5 separate regions of the Homo sapiens genome follow, and regions 1, 3, 4 and 5 are each linked to region 2. Evidence: promoter capture Hi-C in human tissues and cell types (Jung and others, 2019). All regions are on one chromosome and are shown on one strand. The core of a region is centred on a gene start or on the middle of the fragment in contact, and the rest is flanking DNA. Distances in the headings are between cores, read along the strand shown. Region 1 overlaps SLC37A1 (solute carrier family 37 member 1). Region 2 holds the start of TFF3 (trefoil factor 3). Region 3 holds the start of RSPH1 (radial spoke head component 1). Region 4 overlaps SLC37A1 (solute carrier family 37 member 1). Region 5 has its middle 37 kb from the start of ABCG1.

The links. Contacts are between HindIII fragments. The study calls those that stand out against the background at their distance.
Region 1: a fragment that was not itself captured here is called in contact with the fragment with the promoter of TFF3 in region 2 in 1 of the 25 tissues and cell types used here (lymphoblastoid cells).
Region 3: the fragment with the promoter of RSPH1 here is called in contact with the fragment with the promoter of TFF3 in region 2 in 4 of the 25 tissues and cell types used here (dorsolateral prefrontal cortex, lymphoblastoid cells, spleen and 1 more).
Region 4: a contact is called between a fragment that was not itself captured here and the fragment with the promoter of TFF3 in region 2, in 1 of the 25 tissues and cell types used here (lymphoblastoid cells).
Region 5: a contact is called between a fragment that was not itself captured here and the fragment with the promoter of TFF3 in region 2, in 2 of the 25 tissues and cell types used here (heart right ventricle and small bowel).

The regions. Positions count from the first base shown.
Region 1 is chr21:42,514,079-42,517,804 of GRCh38, reverse strand. SLC37A1 (solute carrier family 37 member 1) reads right to left here. Exons shown (of 20, transcript NM_001320537.2): 1 at 3,088-3,726. Among named protein-coding and RNA genes, the nearest start is that of SLC37A1, 2.1 kb to the right of the region's middle. RefSeq lists an enhancer at 3,033-3,262 and silencers at 3,423-3,522, 3,533-3,612. The HindIII fragment of the contact is 7,381 bases long and covers 1-3,726 here.
Region 2 is chr21:42,314,037-42,317,735 of GRCh38, reverse strand. TFF3 (trefoil factor 3) reads left to right here and starts at 2,327. Exons shown (of 3, transcript NM_003226.4): 1 at 2,327-2,443. The coding sequence starts at 2,362. RefSeq lists enhancers at 1-607, 608-1,227. The HindIII fragment of the contact is 18,141 bases long and covers 1-3,699 here.
Region 3 is chr21:42,494,492-42,498,662 of GRCh38, reverse strand. RSPH1 (radial spoke head component 1) reads left to right here and starts at 2,439. Exons shown (of 9, transcript NM_080860.4): 1 at 2,439-2,530. The coding sequence starts at 2,477. It overlaps RSPH1-DT (RSPH1 divergent transcript), which reads right to left and starts at 2,124. Exons shown (of 3, transcript NR_135518.1): 1 at 1,998-2,124; 2 at 1,730-1,840; 3 at 1,220-1,430. RefSeq lists silencers at 2,093-2,332, 2,363-2,482. The HindIII fragment of the contact is 9,831 bases long and covers 1-4,171 here.
Region 4 is chr21:42,556,455-42,560,597 of GRCh38, reverse strand. SLC37A1 (solute carrier family 37 member 1) reads right to left here. Exons shown (of 20, transcript NM_001320537.2): 11 at 1,509-1,640. Among named protein-coding and RNA genes, the nearest start is that of SLC37A1, 45 kb to the right of the region's middle. The HindIII fragment of the contact is 7,302 bases long and covers 1-4,143 here.
Region 5 is chr21:42,180,041-42,184,249 of GRCh38, reverse strand. No RefSeq gene overlaps it. Among named protein-coding and RNA genes, the nearest start is that of ABCG1, 37 kb to the left of the region's middle. The HindIII fragment of the contact is 4,033 bases long and covers 1-3,606 here.

The DNA.
Region 1 (3,726 bases), core at 744-3,243, 200 kb before region 2:
ATTGTGACTTTGCCATTTGAATCCAAAGGAGGAATGAATTTGCCTCGTCTGCCTCTTCATTTTTCATCTCCTGTGGTCACCTCAGAGGTCACAGAAAATGACCTGATTATGAAGTCAGGGCTGAAGGCAGAGCAATATAGGAAGGAATGGGGAGGGAGGCCAGAGAACTGAGAAGGGGCCCAGCACAGCAGGCAGGCCTGGTCTCCCATCCCAATGTCAAACTCATGACATTCCTGAGTCACTGCGTCCTCCAAAGCCAATCAGTTCCCCACATTCACTTTTGCCTCCCTCGAAAGTGAGCTTCCAAAAATGCACATTCTCCAAGGATTTTTCCCTTATACCACCTTTTACAAAAAGATTCAAAATCCCTGCTGAGCTTTCGTCCCAGGAGCCGCCCCTCATCTCTTCTATCTGCTCCAGCCAGAACTACACCTTTCTCCTAGGTCCTACAGGGCCTGAATAGGTGGGATTCACCCCACTCCAATACCTCCTCCTTCCAAGGCTGACCCTGGGCTGTGTAAGCCGAGGCAAGTCACTTAACCTTTCTGCTCCCTCTCCTTCAAGGCTAAACAATGGGGATGATAGCATCCATGTTGTTATAAACATGCAATGAGATAACCTATGGGAAGCACTTGATAAGTGGCCTGGTACGTAGTAAATGCGCAACAAACACTAGCTGATATTATCCTCATTGTAAATTCAAAAGAGGAAGGCCCGGGACTGCAGGGCAAGGTCCTACTTCCATCTCCTTGTCCAGAACCTAGCACAGACCACGTGCTCAAGAAACTCACGTTGAATGAACAGCCACAAATACTTCAAAACCACGTCTGCTCAAACCTCTAGATTTAAGCAATATTTTGCTCAAAATGGGTGGGCTCCAGAATGGGTCTGGATCTACTCTGGGAAATGACTTTGTGATGACAACTTCAGAGTAAAGAATTTGGTTCAACAGTGTCTGGAAACGGATGGTCAGAAGCAAACGTCTTCCTCTCAAGTGCTGCTTCTCCATGTCCAGCGTGTCTGGAAACATTCCATTGCCATCTACTAAATAAATCAAAAACCTCCAACTCTGATAAAACCTGTGACAACAACATCAAAGGCCCAGAAGGCACTGACAAATCAAGAAGGGAAAAAAAACCTCTTTGATTTCTTTTTAAAACAATGATGGATTCTTTTCCCTGTAAAATGGGTGAAAGAAAAGTGCTATAAATTCTCATAGTGAGTGCAGTTAAGATGTGCAAAGACAGTGATTTTACATTTGGGATGTTAAGAGCTCAACTAATGAGGCCCTTCCTCCCTAGCCTGTGCAGCACCACTAAAGACCACTTCATTTTGAGTGGGTCAAGACCTCTGGAAGCACGAACCATGACTGACATGCTCTCATTTGAGCCCCGTGACCACCCTGAAGAGGCAGGGCGTTCTTTTCACAAGGGAGAAAAATGAGGCTAGGCGGCTCGCCTGGGTCAGCTGGATAAGTGGGGCAGATTCCAGTTTGTCCTGTTTCTCTGAGCCACCTCCTCCCTCCAGCCACTCTTCTTCCTGCCCATCCCCTGCAGAGAAAGGGCAGCAGAATGGGAGCAAATCACTTGGTTTAAACCCAGTTTTTGGCACACTGCCCAAGTACATAAAAAGAAGAGATACTTTTTTAAAAAGTCACTCTCTACAGGCCCCCCTGGAACTTACCATTCCAGGGAGGAAAAGCGGCAGAATGTCCAGTTTCATTGCACTGTCAAACACAGCAACTTAGGCCAGGCATGGTGGCTCATGCCTGCAATCCCAGCACTTTGGGAGGCAGAGGCAGGCAGATCACTTGAGGCCAGGAGTTCGAGACCAGCATGGCCAATATGGCAAAATCCCATCTCTACCAAAAATACACAAAAGAGCTGGGCGTGGTGGTGCACACCTGTAATTCCAGCTACTCGGGTGGCTGAGGCATGAAAATCACTTGAACCTGGGAAGCGGAGGTTGCAGTGAGCTGAGATTGCACCACTACACTCCAGCCTGGGCGACAGAGCGAGACCCTGTCTTAAAAAAATATAAAAAGATAGTAACTTAGGAAACAGCCCATTAGAGCATCTTTATTACAACCTGTAAAACCTGCACATGTACCCCTGAAACTAAAAGTTAAAAAAACAAACAGACTCTGAAAGACACATGGTTTTATACCTATTTCTTCAAAAAACCCACCCTAGGCAACTGTAAAACAGAATAAGCTGAGGAAAGAAACATTCACAAGCTCCACTCCCAGACCCACCCACATGTGATCTGCGCTGCCTAGAAGGTTCCAAGTAATCTGCAGAGACTCAAATAATGGGGATAGGAAGTGAGCAATAGCAGGAGTAAGGTTCCTCAGTCTTTTTAGGGCTGAGGTGGCATTACACATAATCAAAGCGGCCCCACAGATATTTTAAATAATCTACTTTATGACATTTTTTTTTAACTGGGTCTCACTTTACAGGCAAAGATGGGTGAGAAATGCAATTCTCCTCCAAAAGTTTTCATGCATTTTTTCTTTTCTTTTTTTTAAATTACGAGATAGAATACAACTTCCTGTCCAGAGTGTGCTCTTTCTATGGCTTTTTGCTTTTAAAGGCGCTTTCCATATTAAAGATGAATGAAAATGGTCACTATCTCTTTCCCCTTGGCTGAAGTACAAGGAACCTGAATTCCATTTGCACCACCTCCCTTACCTGCCTCCAACCCCCAACAAAGAGAACATCACAGGTGGGCTGCATGAAACAGAACGTGTAAATGCAGGTCCAAAATGACTTGGTGAATCACAGGTCTGGGGCCAGGTGTTTTCAAGCTTGCTCTCAAAGGGGATTAATAAAAAAACAACGGGGGAAGTCTAAAATATTTATCCACTTACACAACTTCAGACGATTTAAGTTCAAGGGCCGGCAGGCAGGCAGGCAGGCACCTTCCAGGCAAAGAGCTAAGGGAGACCCGGAAAGGGCAGGCTTTAGCAATTCCTCCTTTGGAAATTCAAACCTGGGGCCGCGGGCTGGGGTGTTAGCGGGGAGTGGGGGTGGTAAGGGGCTTGGCCAGTATCCTTCGTTCAAATGCAAATCCTTAGACTGAACGTACCTTCTCGGTCACCAGGATTACGGCGTGGGCCGTAAGGGCTGGAAGGCTGGTGGCCAGCGGCGAGGGGACTTTCCGGCGCGTCAAGCCCTTTATTATAAACCCAGAAGGTCGCTGTCACTCGCATTGGCCAGGAGGCCCACGGGCTCCGGGAACCAGCTGCTCAGCCGACAAACAACGCAAAGGCCCAGGGTGCCGGCGCTCCGAGCCAGCGTTCTGTGCCGGCTCCTCCCTGGGCGGCTGGTCCCCGGAGGAGGTGAATTCCGCGGGCACGCCCACGTCCCCATCGCGGCAGACAATGCGCAGGGTCCCCTCCTGCCGGCTCTCTGGACCCTCAGCTGTCACCGCGGCCCGGGCCGGGGTGGGCAGGGGACCCGGCTGGACAGCTAAGCTCGCCCCTGCCGGGGACTCCGTGGAGCGGCTGCCGGCCCCGTGCCCGCTCCCTCTGCCTCCACTTCCCCGGAATCCCAGCGTTGCCCCGGTCCGGGAACGCCCGGCATTGTCGCCGAGGGCCACTCTTCTAGATGTCGTATTTCAAAGACTTCCCTCCGCGAAAATAGCTTGAGACCGTCCCCGGCTCTCGGAAAACATCCAAACCAGCCCCCACCTCCCCCCGAAAAAAAAGAAAAGGAAGGAGAGGAG
Region 2 (3,699 bases), core at 1,078-3,577:
GGACAAGAATGTGTCACCTTTGTTATTCCTTCCCCAGCCCTAAACCCTGGGTGTAGGCAGTAGGAGCTCAGTCAACATTCACTAGTTAAACGGAAGCAAACCCCAGCAGGGTTCTCGGTGCTGGCCGCAGAGAAGAATCACAGGCGACAGAACCACCTGTCAGGGCGGGGCCCAGGCATTGATATTCTCCCCACTCCAGGCAATTTTGAGTGCAGCAGGTGGAGACCACAGCACCTGCAGAAGCTCCTTGCGGGGGTCCTTCCCCAGCAGGTCATGAGGGCCGGAGGGGCAGCAGTCTGTTCCTGGGGTGTTTGCACCCTCCTGGAACTCAGCCCTGCACCACGACCTGGCCTGGCCTCTGGGTACTAGGAGCAGTGGGAAGGCAGGGAGATCTCACCAGATCCCCCAGGGAGATCTCACCAGATCCCCCAGGGATTTCCCCTACAATGACCTTTTTAATAACATGAAAATCCTGCTGTCCATTGATGAACCTGGGTCCGCTGTCTCCCAGAAAAAGTGAGTGCCCCGAAAACAAGGCAGGCAACGCTCTTTCCTTCTTCCTCCTTCGCTGGCCTCAGCGGGAGTGGCACATCAGAGGCCAGGGGCCCTCAAATCCATCCACAAAGGGCGTGCTGAGCGCAAGGGCGGGGCCTGGGAGTCACAGGGCAGGACACATCCTGGTGCTCAGCACGTACGCCATCGAGCTCCCATGGGTCACTCGGGGAAGGGCAGTTTGTGGATGCACCCTTGGAGGCTCAAGGCCGCCCTGCACACACCACCGGGGACCCCAGCTGCAGGCTAAATCCAAGCAGCCAGGCGCTCCCATTTCTCGGGGTGATAAACCAAGTCCACCCTTCAGACAGAGGCTCCTGGAAGGGCCAGTGGGGGTCATCAAAATGCCTCCCTGGAAAAGAAACACGGAGAACACAAAATCTAGGGGCCCGTTTTCCTGGAATGAGATTAGTCTCTTGCCCACTACCAGCCAGTCCACTGCAGGAGGTTGGGGGGTTGGGGGATGCTGCGGATGCCGAGGGCGGAGGCTTAGGGTCCTGGGAGTGGGTTAAATACCAGCTATACCAGGGACACTGGAGTAACCTCTGATAGGCACCGGAAATGTTGAGTCTTAGTTTCTTCCTCTGGAAAATGGATAGAATCATCGCTGTCTCATCTGATATGTTGTTATAAAACAATTCCTGAGATGTAGTCTTTAGTTTTTAAAAGAGCACGCTGGGCAAAGGTGGAGAGTCAGTTCCTGTTTGTGTTAAAAATGTGGCCGAGTGCAGTGGCTCATGCCTGTAATCCTGACACTTTGGGAGGCCAAGGAAGGCAGATCACTTGAGTCCAGGAGTCTGAGACCAGCCTGGCCAACATGGCGACACCTGGTCTCTAAAAAAATACAAAATATTAGCTGGACACATGCCTGTGGCCCAGCTACTTAGGAGGCTGAGGTGGGAGGATCACTTGAGCCCCGCGAGGGCGGGGGTCTCAGTGAGTTGAGATTGTGCCACTGCACTCCAGCCTGGGTAACAGAGCAAGACCCTGTCTCCAAAAAAAAAAAACAAAAAAAAAACAAAAAAAAAACAAAACAAACAAACAAACAAAAACAAACCAAAAAAACGTGCTTAGATCCAGAGAGAAAAATTCTGAAAGGATACCTAAAAAAGTGTTCACAATAGATCAATAGATGCCTCTGGATAGGAAAGGCTCTTTTGTATTATTTGATTTTAAAAATCAATTATGTGTACCATGTTTTTACTAACATATTTTCAATCAATTCATTTCATCCACTTATTAAAATGTAGTTACTAATTTTTAGGGGAGAAAGCAAAAAGGAAAGACAAGGAATCTCTGTGTTTCAGGAGTTGTGAGAGAGCCGCAGGGTCCTGACTCACTCAGAGCTGCCTGTCTCCGAGGCCGATCTGGGATGAAGCAGCCTGGGGCTCTCTTGTCATGGGACCAGGGGTGTTCTGAGGGCTTCTGGCTGGGAGGCTGAGATGGAACGGACACCACACCCTGGTCCTGCCACCCCACATGGCTCCTGCACACTACACCAGGCCAGGCTAGGAGGGCAATTGACACACATCCGCTCCCCAGTAGAGGACCCGGAACCAGAACTGGAATCCGCCCTTACCGCTTGCTGCCAAAACAGTGGGGGCTGAACTGACCTCTCCCCTTTGGGAGAGAAAAACTGTCTGGGAGCTTGACAAAGGCATGCAGGAGAGAACAGGAGCAGCCACAGCCAGGAGGGAGAGCCTTCCCCAAGCAAACAATCCAGAGCAGCTGTGCAAACAACGGTGCATAAATGAGGCCTCCTGGACCATGAAGCGAGTCCTGAGCTGCGTCCCGGAGCCCACGGTGGTCATGGCTGCCAGAGCGCTCTGCATGCTGGGGCTGGTCCTGGCCTTGCTGTCCTCCAGCTCTGCTGAGGAGTACGTGGGCCTGTGTGAGTACTGCCCTGACTGCCCCGGTGGCAGGGTGGGCGTGAAGGGAAGGGATCCAGGATAAGGGGGGATTCTGCATTCATTTAATAATGGCCACCTGTCACATATACACTTTTTCCTGCGCTAGCCCTTTGAAGTGGGTCTTTATTGTCCCCATTTCACAGACAAGGAAACCGAGGCTCAGAGAAAGTTAACAACTTATCCAAGGCAGCCCTGCCCAGTCTGTGTTGAAATCAGGGTTTGAGCCTGAGCCCATCCCCTATGACCCCATAGCCATCTTTGCTGGAGATTTCTAAATTACAATATAGGTCTTTATGCATTGTTCCACATTTACAAAGAAAAAGGAAAGATGCAGGAGAAAAACCCTGACTTCAGAACACTGTCAATACCGGCAGGCACAAGGTTCATTTAGCCATTGCATAGCAACCCTGCCATGGGGTGTGGCTGCTCCATTAACCCAAGTTTGAAGGAATGAGGGCATGGCTTTTATCTGGGTGTCTTCTGAGCAGGGTCAAAGGCAGTGGTTCCCGAACTTGCAGCCCATTAGAATCACCTGGAGAGCTTTAAAAATCCTAATGCTTGGGGCACACCAGTTACATCAGGGCATCTCCAGGCAAGATCCAGGCCTCAGCTGTTTTGTTTTGAGATAGCCTTGCTTTGTCACTCACTGCTGGAGTGCAGTGGCACAATCTCAGCTCACTGCAACCTCCGCCTCCTGGGTTCAAGCAATTCTTGTGCCTCGGCTTCAAGTAGCTGGGATTACAGGCATGCACCACCATGCCCAGCTAATTTTTTGGATTTTTAGTAGAGATGGAGTTTCGCTATGTTGGCCAAGCTGGTCTCAAACTCCTGGCCTCAAGTGATCCTCCTGCCTTGGCCTCCCAAAGTGCTGGAATTACAGGTGTAAGCCACCATGCCCAGCCAACGTCAGTCATTTTTAAAGCTCTGCAGCTGATTCCAGTGTGAGCGAAGTTTGGATGCCAGGAGGATAAGCAATTACGGACTGGGAGCAAGAGAAGGGAATGTAAGACACTGCACGTGATTGCCATTTTCCTAAGGAAATACTCAGTTCGTTAATGAAACGCAGTGAACTTCTGCTGCACATACAGACATAGAGGCTTGCCTGAAACATGAAAATATTGGGGACTGAAGGATGTCCCGGGAGGGTGGGACATGCTCAACAATTCAGGAAGGGGAGATGCAGAAAAAAGTGAAAAGCAGGCAGCATGCGTTGCAATGATCTCTATGGCGTGTGCCT
Region 3 (4,171 bases), core at 1,190-3,689, 180 kb before region 2:
AAGGATCTTAACTGCTGTCGACCAAAGTTAAGGCTGTTGAGGCGGAAATTGATAAAGGCTTATTGAAAGCCAAATTTGAAGATTGAATGGGGAAGACACACCAACAAAGTTGGGTGTGTTCCAAAGTCTGTTACAAGTTGCAGTGCTTTTATAAGAAAGTTGAGGAATGGGAAGGGGACTCCTCATATTGCAGTTGTCTTTTTTCATTGGAGGGACAATATAGAGGTTACAGTCATTGGCTACAGATGACAACATACAGGCTAAAATGTTTTCTGCATATGCACAAGACAATCAGTGAAACGTCATGATTCAGAAACAAATCAGTATCCTTTTCAGTGTCAGTAGTTTACGTATTAATTAGTACATCAACAGTCTGAGGAACTCATGATACGATTTGAGAGATTCACAGTAAGATTGTTTGCTCAAGTACAGGATGTAAAACACGAGTCATAAGACCTTCTCCAGGTAGTTAAAATATAGTTTATTCTTTTAAGTGTAGGGATGCATGACTTAACTCATGCCTGGCATGGCCTTAGGTCCTGTTTGTAAGTTGGTATCTTACTGCCACAGCGTCCATTCTGTCAGTCTTATGATCTCTATTTTAACATTAATGCTTGTTAGTTGTTGTGTCTAAACTGCACAAGGGTATTAGTGAGGCATGTTCGACCTCCCTTCCCATCATGGCTGAGAACGCAGTTTTTAAGGTTTCTGGGGCCCTCTTGGCCAAGAGGGGTCCATTCAGTTGGCTGTGGTGGGGCTTAGGAGGTTATTTTTAGTTTATAACCCCCTATAACTCCCTTTCCTTAGATGTTCAATGGAGGAATGATAGTGAGGATTTAATAAGATAACTCATAAAATTCTTAAAACAGTGCCCACACACAGTGTCAGAACTTAGTAAACACTGGTTACTGTCATTGTTAGGACAAATTTGAAAGCTAAATTTCTGACATTTTAAATGTAAAAAACGAGTATTTATTTGCATATACTTATGTTACCATTCTAGATTTCTAACATTTAAAATGCTTCTGGCATTTTATTATAAAAATAGGACATGCTTAATTGTAGTAACTGGGTAACTGCCAATATGTAGAGAAGAAAATAATAATCATCTGTTATCCCTAACTCCCCACTTTTCCCCATAAGAAAAGCTGTTAAATTTTGGTGTTTACAACATTTTTATCTTTGCATCTAAAAAACGACATAATTTTGGAATCTCGTGTGTTGTTGTAACTTGTGTATTTATTCAGTAAGTAATATATTTGGGCCTGATGATGGGTTATGGTTGTAACCTTTCATATTAGCATTGGGAAGAATCTCTAGGGGATGTGTGCTCTGGAAGATCAGCAGCTTATTCACCGCGTGGATTTGGCTTCTGGGATTCTCCCATCAAGACCAAATCCTATAGTTATTCAGTCACTCCTCCCCAGCTCCTGCAGCAACAACAAATAACACAGCTTTGCAGTCTGGGATGATGGCAGAGGAAATGGGAGATGTGAGGGGCCTTCGGCAGGCGGAGTGCGTCAGGTAAAGCAGATTTCCAAGCCTGCACGTGTACATGCGTGTGCGTCTGTGATTGTGTGGGTGTGTGACAGTGTAGGGGAGCCAGGAGCGAGAGGAGAGGACGGCGATCGTAGGGGACACCTGAGAGTCAGAGGCCCGAGGGGGCTGGGACTCATGTCGAGGTCGGGGAAGGATGTAAAACCCGGACGGACATCACTGTAGGCCGCACCTGCTGAGAGGCCAGAGCTGCCTCCTTGAGAGTGAAGTTGTTTACAGACAAGAGAAGAGATCTTGGCGGACACATCACAGCTAGCCGCGAATCCCGAAGGGTCAGCAGAGCCTAGAAAGGTAAGTGGGGGTGGGCAGCATCCCCGGAGGGGCCTGCGAGGCCTGGGGGCGGAAGGGAGCGGGCAGTGCCCGCACTGGGCAGGGGTGAAACCCTCTCGAGAGTTGGCCCGGACGCGTTTCCCGCGTCCTTCCTCTTGAGGGCCCAGTACCCAGGTGGCTCCTCGTTGTGGCGTCACAGAACAGCCGACAAAAGTGATGGATTTCAGGGGCCAGCGACGGCGAGGTCCAGGTCAGAGAGCCGGTGGGCAGCCAGGCACAGAACCCGCTCAGGCCCTGCCCAGTCCCCGCCCCCTCGCTTCCCGAGCAGTGATTGGCCGAAGCGGCCCCTCGTTGCTATGACGGCACCAGAGTGCTGCCACTGGCTCCACCTCGTCCCTTCCGCCCCGCCCCTCCGTATTCCCGGGCGGTGATTGGTCGAGGTGCCCTTCCCGTTGCTATGACAGTACGCAAAGGCTGCCAGTGGCTCCTCCCGCTTCGTCCGCGTCGCCTGTCCCCGCTCCCCATCTTCCGGGCTGGGAGGGAGGCGGGACCGGCCGCGTCTCCATGGCGACGCGGGACGCGGCGGTGGAGGCGGTTGCTACCCACCTGCTAGAGGCGCTGCGGCTGTGATCCAGGCTGGGGCGAGACCATGTCGGACCTGGGCTCGGAGGAGTTGGAGGAGGAGGGAGAGAATGATATTGGGGTGAGAGCTCCTGGTGAGAAAGGGCTTCCCAGGGTGCGCAGCGGCGGGGGAACCTCGAGGTTGGGTTTGGAGAGTGAGGAGGCGCAGAAACCAGAGGTCTGAGCCACAGCTCCCCAGGATCCCCGGCAGGGACGAAGGCCACGCCAGACACACCTGCGTGCGTCCTGGAAGTTGATGGTGAAAAGTGAAACGCTGTGACGTCTGGTTACCACATGCCGCCTCGTTCTTCCCCCACCCCCATCCTGCCTCCCATTAAAGGCAAAGATTTCCCAGCGGAAGGCTTTGGAAGTTTCCTCCTCCCTGTGTTAATTCCCATCGAGGCAGTTTTCTCGGATGAGCAGATCATCCCACGCTGCCATACTGCCCTTGAATAAGTCATTTCTGTAGCTGAGATTTGCTCCCCCGGCATTTAGATGCATGGAGGATAGTTGCTTCCTGGCAGCCTCCAAGAAATGCTGAGGAGGCCCTGGGCTCAGGAGAGGGTTCCTGAAGATATTACCTTATAGGCGTATCCTCACATGTGCTTTCTTCAGTCCCCATCTGAACTGACCCAGGTCTTTGGAGTTATTTCCTGAGTTAGGCAGCAGAGAGGAGAAAGAGGGCACATCCAGCCTGTGAGCTGGGTTCTGTGTGGGAATATTTCTATCACCCAGAGAGTAGTTCCTCCCTACTCCAGAGAGTGACCTCTCCATGGCTGACAGATAGGGAACCTCAGCCACTATGGTCTGCATGCACAGTACAGAGTTGAGGTACTTTCAGAATTAACTGAAAAATCTAGCGACTCTGCAGTGGTGCTGTCAGTGCCTGCCCAGACCTTTTTGCTAGCTCTGGGCACTCATCTCCCAGCTTCCGCCTGATTTGCTACTCAAGCTATCACCTCTGTGCGCTGGAACTACCTGCCCAGTATGGAGAGCCAGAAGTGCCTGAAATTCACATCCGGCCAGACAGCCAGTAGCTAGTGCAAGAAGCAGGACAAAGTCTGCAGTGCGATTGATGCCCCCAGAGTCCCTGTTGGATTAGGCCAAGTCTGGGACTTCACCTGCAAAGGCATCCTTCCTTAGCTGCCTGCCCTTTCATGTCTACTTCCCTGCCCTCTTTACTACTTTCTCCCAGGAGAGCACTTAAAAAAATCAGGCCAGGCGCGGTGGCTCACACCTGTAATCCCAGCACTTTGGGAGGCCGAGGTGGGCAGATTGCCTGAGCTCAGGAGTTTGAGACCAGCCTGGGCAACACGGTGAAACCCTGTCTCTACTAAAATACAAAAAATTAGCCGGGCATGGTGGCGGGCACCTGTAATCCCAGCTACTCGGGAGGCTGAGGCAGGAGAATGGCTTGAACCCGGGAGGCAGAGGTTGCAGTGAGCCGAGATCACGCCACTGCACTCCAGCCTGGGCAACAGAGCGACTCTGTCTCAAAAAAAAAAAAAAATCACTTGTTCAGGGTCTGTTTCTAGGTGAACCCAACCTGCAACACTTGACCAGCAAGATTTCTAGTTTGTCTCCTCAAATGGCCCCACTGATTTGTAACTTTTTAGTGCCTATAATTTTTAGGTTCAGATCACATTTGGGGTCATTTTAAAGGATTTCTGTCTTATTCAGCCACCCCAGCGGCTCAGTGTTGGGTGTATTGGGAAGCCTCTTG
Region 4 (4,143 bases), core at 1,561-4,060, 240 kb before region 2:
GAATACTTTCTGTTCTGAAGCCAAGGTTCTCCCCAGTCTTTAATTTCTGTGATATGATTTTGAGGTCTGGGTTGCATTGTTTATACTTCCAGCCCTGACCTGCTGAGGGGCCTCGGGCCTGTGCCCCTGGCCCTCTGCCTTTCTCTAGGTTGTGTCAACAAGCGAGAGCTGTGTCTGCTCCCTGGTGCTGTGGCTGTCAGTGCTGGAGAGCACGGCCTGGACAGCCCCGCCAAACAGCCCACCCTGGACAGCGCCCCCTGGACAGCCCACCCTGGACAGCCTGCCCAGCCCACACAGCAGGGTCTGGTCTCCCTCCCACGCCCCTGCTCTCAGCCCTCTGCCCCCATCGGAAGAACACAGTGTCTCCACACCCTGTGCACAGCTCCTTAGATTCTCTGCTGAGAGAGTCCATCAATGTAATAAAAACTGAAAGCAGCAAGAAATCTCCCTACAGTGCCCCTCCCGCTCATCTGCTCCAAGTCACCTTGTTCCCGATACTGATCACCCGCTGATCACGCCCTTCTAGTCTGGAGGCAAGGCCAGCAGCACCACCGAGGACCAGCCCGGTCCAGCTTCTGAGGGCTTCTCCCGCCTGTGCTACTCGTTCTTCCCTTGGTCCCTGCATCCTCCCCCTCACTCTTGGCATCCTCTGCTCACACACACGGGCAATCAGACCACGGGCTGTGGCACTGAAGGCACTTTTTGGGTTTTTTTTTTTTTTTGAGACAGAGTCTTGCTCTGTCACCCAGGCTGGAGTGCAGTGGCACAATCTTGGCTCACTGCAACTTCTGCCTCCCGGGTTCAAGCGATTCTCCCGCCTCAGCCTCCTGAGTAGCTAGGACTACAGGCGCCTGCCACCACGCCCAGCTAATTTTTGTATTTTTAGTAAAGACCGGTTTTTGCCATGTTGGCCAGGCTGGTTTTGAACTCCTGACCTCAGGTGATCTGCCTGCCTCGGCCTCCCAAAGTGCTGGGATTATAGGCGTGAGCCACTGCGCCCAGCCTAAAGGCACTTTAAAGGGAAAGAGAATCCAGCCGGGCTCGCGAAGGCCACGGCGCAGCACTCAGTGCCAGCGCCTCCCATGGGCTCACGCTCAAGGCCTGTGGGAGGGCAAGTGCACTGGGGAGGGGCCGGGCCACAGGGGCCAGGTGGCACAGTAGTCAGGGCCTCAGTTCCCCAACCTGTCACATGGGGGCAGGCCCAGGGTGCCAGGCTTTCCGTTTTTCCAGTGAAGGCAGGGAGCCCCATTTTTCTATGAACCTGAATTTCTAAATGGAGAAAACGAATTTCAAAAAAAATTTAAACATGGTATGAGGCGAACAAATATCACTGCAGCCATATTCAGTCCTGAAGCTAGCACTGTGCAGCGTCTAGCTTTGGCTATGGATTCGAATCCCCGGGTTCTACAACCACAGATGTCTTTTTAAGCTTAATCATCAACCGACCAGACTTCCCACAGCCAGCACAGCAGCCCTTTCTGAAACTCCTCCTGGGCACGTTTACTTACTGGAATTTTCAAGGCCCCTGTGAAGCTGATGGCGGCCGTGCCACTCCCACCGTCCCCGGGGAGAATGACGACGTGGTTCGGGTGGATGGAGCCCTTCCCATCTGAGAGCAGCAGGCACTGCATCTCTGGGTCCTGGAGGCAAATCCATTGGGAACAAAAAGGAAAGGTGTTACCAGCCGGGCAGTCTGGGTGAAGTGGGGCCAGGCTTCCTAATGACGAGGGTGCCTGGCGGCTCTCTCTTCCACTGCCTTGGAGACATCCTGGGTGACATTCCCACCTGGCCACTGTGTTAGAATGATTAGCATTCATGCATTTTCATGAACGGCTAGGTACACAGATCCTCTGATCCAGAAATTCTAGGAATCTATTGGCAAAAAATAATTTGAAAAGTAAAAAGATACTTATAAAGTAAAATGGATGTCACATCATCATTGAGAAAAAATAGAAAATTCAAATACATCCATACGAATGACATCTTGTAAAAAAAAGGTTGGGAGATTTTAATGACGGAAAATGCTTATGACACATTAAATAACACATCATTCAAAACTGCATGTCATTATAACCTCAAAGAATGTTTAAATATCTACGTATGTAACTAGGCAACTATAGGATCTATTTCTAGAAAGAAAGAAGCTAAAATCTAAGCCAACAATGGTTGTCAGCGAGTGGTGGAATTATGTGTAATTTTTATCGAAATGCTAATAAGAAATTCTTTACATGATCCTGCATTTTTTAGGAGTTCACAATGGCCATATATGACCAGAAATAACATTATTTTAAAATACACCAACATTATTTTAAAATACACCTATTCTGATATTTATGAATTCTGATTGTCTAGACGTTCCTAAAGGACAAAGTGTACATTCATTAAAGCAAAGAAGAGTGATTCCCCAACCTAGAGTGGGATTTCAAGTCAGAGCAAGGATAACATAAAAATAATCTTAGCCTGGGCCACACAGTAAGACCTAAAAAAAAATAGTGGAATGTGGTGGTATGCGCTTGTAGTCCTAGCTGCTCTGGAGGCTGAGGCAGGAGGATCACCTGAGCCCAGGAGGTGGAGGCTGCAGTGAGCTGTGATTGTGCGGCTGTCCTTCAGCCCGGGCAAGACCCTGTCTCAAAAAAGAATGAAAATAAAATAAAAATATTCTTCATGAGTGAGCTATGAGGTTCAAGGTCTTACAAAGAAATGCTTCTAGGTATCTCAGACCTTTCACAAAATCAAACAGGCTTTGTGGTACTTATCTCACTATAACCTGTTATAAGTTGGACTAAAAATGTAGTTTAATTAAAAAAAAAAAAGAAAATGGTAATGTATTCCACATTCCCCTGCCCCTTGATATTTAGAATATTTAGAATTCTCTTCCAGTGGAAAACAGACATTTGGAAACCGGGTGGCAGGTGGCACCGAGTGCAGCCCAGTGTGGGCACCCAGTGGGTGGCCTTGGGGGCAGCCCAGCGTCTACGTGCCCCAGGAAGCCCGGCTTCACAGCTAGGACTCTGGCATGGAGAGCGGGTCTCTGATGAAGATATTCACATGTGGCCACATAGTCAGGTGCTCTGGAATGAAGATGACAAGGCTGAGTGCAGATGCCTAACATGCTCCCGATGATAATCCCATCACGGCACGTGAAAGCAAAGAATGGCGACTTGAGTTTCTGAATAAACTTTTCTCTCATGAATTCTGCTAATCGTCCAGTTTAGAAAACTACATCAGTAATGCTCTACTGTGGCTAAGCACTGGAATCTCCTCGGGGGGCTTTGAGAAGCCTCGAATTCCCCCAGCCCCACGGAAGCAGTCCCTGGGGCAGCCCCAGGCGAGTTCCACTCATAGCAAGCTGAGGGCTACAGGACTTCACAGGCCGTTCCGCAGGAAACAGGCTCAGCAGTGGGTGAAATGCAGCCAGCTGGAGAAAAGTCAAGCGGAACGAGGCCGCTTAGCCAGGAGAAGCGCACCCTCTGACCCGCAGAGAAGTGACCGCAGGTCAACACAGAAGACCTACTTGGCCTCAGGTAGGACCCAGATGCCCAAAGGCCGCCCACGGCCCTTGCAGGATTTGTAAAGTGCTTCAGGGTCCACTTGCTGGGCTGGTTTAAAGCCACAGACACAGACCCTCTGCTCCTTATCTAAGCAGCAAGGAGCCCCCGAGACAGACAGAAGGCTCTGTTTCTGCTGAGAACGGGCCCTGTGCTCACAGCCACTCATCTTAAACAGGACTTGTAGCCACCATACCTGAGTTGTTTGCTCCTGGAGGAGATGGGAAAGAGTGTGGGGCCATGGCTGGTTTTCCAAAACAAACAGGGGGCTGCTGCTGCCTCCTCCTTACATAGCAAACAAGAAGCCACTGGGTGGACCAAGACAAGGCTGGAGGCCAAGAGGCACCTCTGCCTCTAAACAAGCAGTTTCCAGTCTGTGTCCCAAGAGCCCCAAATGGGATCTGTGGAGCCCCCGGTGGGTGTGGGGGCTTCTGTGGCCAGTGCACTCCACGCTTAGGGCTTACACTTTCAAAGAGAAAAGGGTTCCCTCTACTAAAATGCCCCCACACACAACAAAAATACACACAGACGCATGTGGGGGGACTGCGTAATAACGATCGCTTTATCTAAAAATGCTAAGCTCACCCCGCTACCC
Region 5 (4,209 bases), core at 341-2,840, 130 kb after region 2:
CACCACACATACCCAAACACACATTCACCCCATGCACACCACACACACAGGCACATACACACACCACACATATACACCACACACCACACACACACCACACATACACACCACACACCACTCACACCATACACACACAACACACACATACCCAAACACACATTCACTACACGCACACCACACAGATGTGTGCACACACGCCACACACATCACACATACAAACGACACACACCACACCACACACCTCACACACATCACACAAACCACACACCACACACACAAACCACATACACCACACACCTCACACACATACCGTGCCACACCACATCATATACCACACACAACACATACAACACAAAACACCTACCTCACACACACACACCATAAACACACACCACACCACACACCTCACACACACACCACCACACATGCCACACAACACACACACTACACACACCACACCACACATCTCAGACACACACCACATCACACTACACCACACACCTCACACACACAACCACACACCTCATACACATACCACACACATATCACATATACATATACCACATACCACACACACACACACAACACCATACATCACACACACCATACCACACACACACACATGCACACAGTGTACCACACACCATACATCACACACACCACACACCACATCCACACACCGGACCACACACCATACAGACACTACATACACACTACATGCACACCACACATCACACACCACACATCTCCCATACATACACCACACCACACACCAGACATATACCACACAAACACACCACACACACACCCCACCACATACACACACTACACACACCGCACAGACACACTTACACCACACACACACATATATTTTTCCCTCTTCTAATAAACCATTGGCTTTGAATAGCTTATCTACTAAGCAGTCTCAGAATAGTTTGTATGTTTTTACACTTGTCTGCCTAATTTGTTTAATGTCATGAAGTCCCCTGCCAGAGTGATGTGTGCCCTGAGAGTCGGGCCGGCAGGCCTGGATTCCAGCCCTCATCCCTCAGCTGACCAGTCCCTGATGCTGTGCAGTCACACCACCTCTCCAGACCTCTTCACGAATAGGCAGGGTGGTGTGGGGACATGGTGCTGCCTCAAACATAAAACCTAGAAGAACAAATCCATACCCAAAGCCAGGTTTGGGATGCCCATGGCTGAGGATGGCTGGCTGGGCTCTGGGGCTGGAGGCAGGTGCTGGAGGGTCAGGAGTGAGGTGGGGATGGAGACAGCTCCCTGCTTAAAGCAGGGCAGGGGTCAGGCCAGCCCTGCTGGTGAAAGTGACTGAGAAAAAGCTGCTGCTGCCGCTGGCTGGGCTGGGCTGGGCTAGGGCTCCTTGGCCAAGGACACTGTGGGCAAGGGAGGGGATGGGTTTCACAGATGGCAGTGCTGAGACTCTGCTAGACAAGCCCCAGCCCCTAGGGAGAAGGAGGCTGGCCCAGGTGAGCCTTGGGATGGGAGGGAGCTGGCAGAGAGGGGGCCCAGAGCTGCTCCTTGGTTGGGGGACAAAAAAACAGAAACTCAAGTTCTCATGCAACATGAGCTTGCAAACCACAATTCTAAAACACATGGAGACGTCTAACAATCCACTGGCTTTGAATACCTTACTAAGCCTTCATAATAGTTTGTTTAAGTTTTTACAGTTGTCTGCCTAATTTGTGAGGCTTTCAAAGCTCCCCCCACTTTTTTTTGAGATGGAGTCTCATTCTATCACCCAGCTTGGAGTGCAGTGGAGTGATCTCAGCTCACTGCAACCTCCACTTCCTGGGTTCAAGCAATTCTCCTGCCTCAGCCTCCTGAGTAGCTGGGACTACATGTGCGTGTCACCACGCCCAGCTAATTTTTTGTATTTTTAGTAGAGACAGGATTTCACCATGTTGGCCAGGCTGGTCTCGAACTCCTGGCCTCAAGTGATCTGCCCACCTCAGCCTCCCAAAGTGCTGGGATTACAGGCGTGAGCCACTGCACCTGGCCTTTCAAAGCCTTTTTTAATGCCATGGAGTCACATAACTGAGTGAAGAGCTATCTGAAAACCAGGGCCAGCAGACCTGGATTCCAGCCCAAATGACCGATCCCCAAAACTAGCATTGGAAACATTAGAAGCATGCATTCACATCAAATAGAATTAATTTTATAGGACATTCTGGCGGAAATACTGAAGAAATTATTCAAATGTAAAAGAAGCAGAAGAAATTATTAAACAAAGAAAAAAGATATAAAAAGAGAATCACATTAAAAATTTTGAAAATGAAGGGTAGAATAATTGAAGTTTAAAACAAACCTTATACCTGGCAAAAAAAAGTAAAAAGAAGGAATTAATATAGGTAAAAGTAGAAGTCCCTGAGTTAGAAATCAGACATAGGTAGAATGGATGAATGGTCTGGTTCTTTGAAAAACATCTCCAAGAGAGAAAATTCAAAAGCCAACTTAGTTCTTTAAAAACAGGTTTAAAATACAAAAGTTGGTTTTCTGCTGATTCTTGAAGCTGCATCATTGTAGTTTGTTACACGAAGCTCTCTATTTTATGTTTAGACATTTCCATATAAAAAACTAAAAAGAGAGAAGAGAAATAGCAAGAAAACATTAACCAAAGAATACATGTAAATATCAGAAAAATAAATGTAAGGCAAAACCATGAGCAATAAATAGAGTGTCAGTACTCAATGACAAAGCTTCAGTTCACCAGGACAGTAAAACAAACATGTCTGTAGACAGGAGAGGGCCTTTCCCCAGCTCTCATCCTCACTGTCTCATGGCTTTTCCTAGGAATGTCAATTCCCAAGTACTTCTGGCCTGCCCTGCCTTCCGTATTTCCAGAAATGCCTTCTAACACAGAGATGCAGTCACTGCTAGTTGCGAGTTATACAGAACATCCCAAAATGACAGAGCCCCAGAGACATAGGTGACACCAGCCGCATCTGTGACATGAGAGAACACAGGCATGTTTCAGGCACAAGCAGAACATTTACAAAAATTTACCTAATTCCAGGACACAGAGCAAAACCCAAAAAATGTTAAAAATTTGGTTTCATGAACATTTTATTATTTATCCACAATTAATAATTAAACACAAAAGATAACTGGGGAGAGGGAGCACATGTTTAGGAATTAATAAATACACTAACTCACTCATGGGTCAAAAAAGAAACTATGTTGAAGTTAGAAAATAATACAAAAATTAACTCAAGATGGATTAAAGACTTAAATGTAAAACCTAAAACCATAAAAACCCTAGAAGAAAACCTAGGCATTACTATTCAGGACATAGGCATGGGCAAGGACTTCATGTCTAAAACACCAAAAGCAATGGCAACAAAAGCCAAAATTGACAAATGGGACCTAATTAAACTAAAGAGTTTCTGCACAGCAAAAGAAACTACCATCAGAGTGAACAGGCAACCTACAGAATGGGAGAAAATTTTTGCAATCTATCCATCTGACAAAGGTCTAATATCCAGAATCTACAAGGAACTTAAACAAATTTACAAGGAAAAAAAACCCCATCAAAAAGTGGGCAAAGGATATGAACAGACACTTCTCAAAAGAAGACATTTGTGCAGCCAACAAACATATGAAAAAAAGCTCATCATCACTGGTCATTGGAGAAATGCAAATCAAAACCACAATGAGATACCATCTCACGCCAGTCAGAATGTCAATTATTAAAAAGTCAGGAAACGATAGATGCTGGTGAGGCTGTGGAGAAATAGGAATGCTTTTATACTGTTGGTGGGAGTGTAAATTAGTTCGACCACTGTGGAAGACAGTGCGGCTATTCCTCAAGGATCTAGAACCAGAAATACCATTTGACCCAGCAATCCCATTACTGGGTATATACCCAAAGGATTATAAATCATTTTACTATGAAGACACATGCACACATATGTTTACTGCAGCACTATTTACAATAGCAAAGACTTGGAACCAACCCAAATGCCCATCAATGATAGACTGGATAAAGAAAATGTGGCACATATACACCATGGAATACTATGCAGCCATAAAAAAGAATGAGTTCATGTCCTTTGCAGGGACATAGATGAAGCTGGAAACCATCATTCTCAGCAAACTAACACAGGAACAGAAAACCAAACACTGCATGTTCTCACTCATAAGTGGGAGTTGAACAATGAGAACACATGGATACAGGGAGGGGAACATCACACA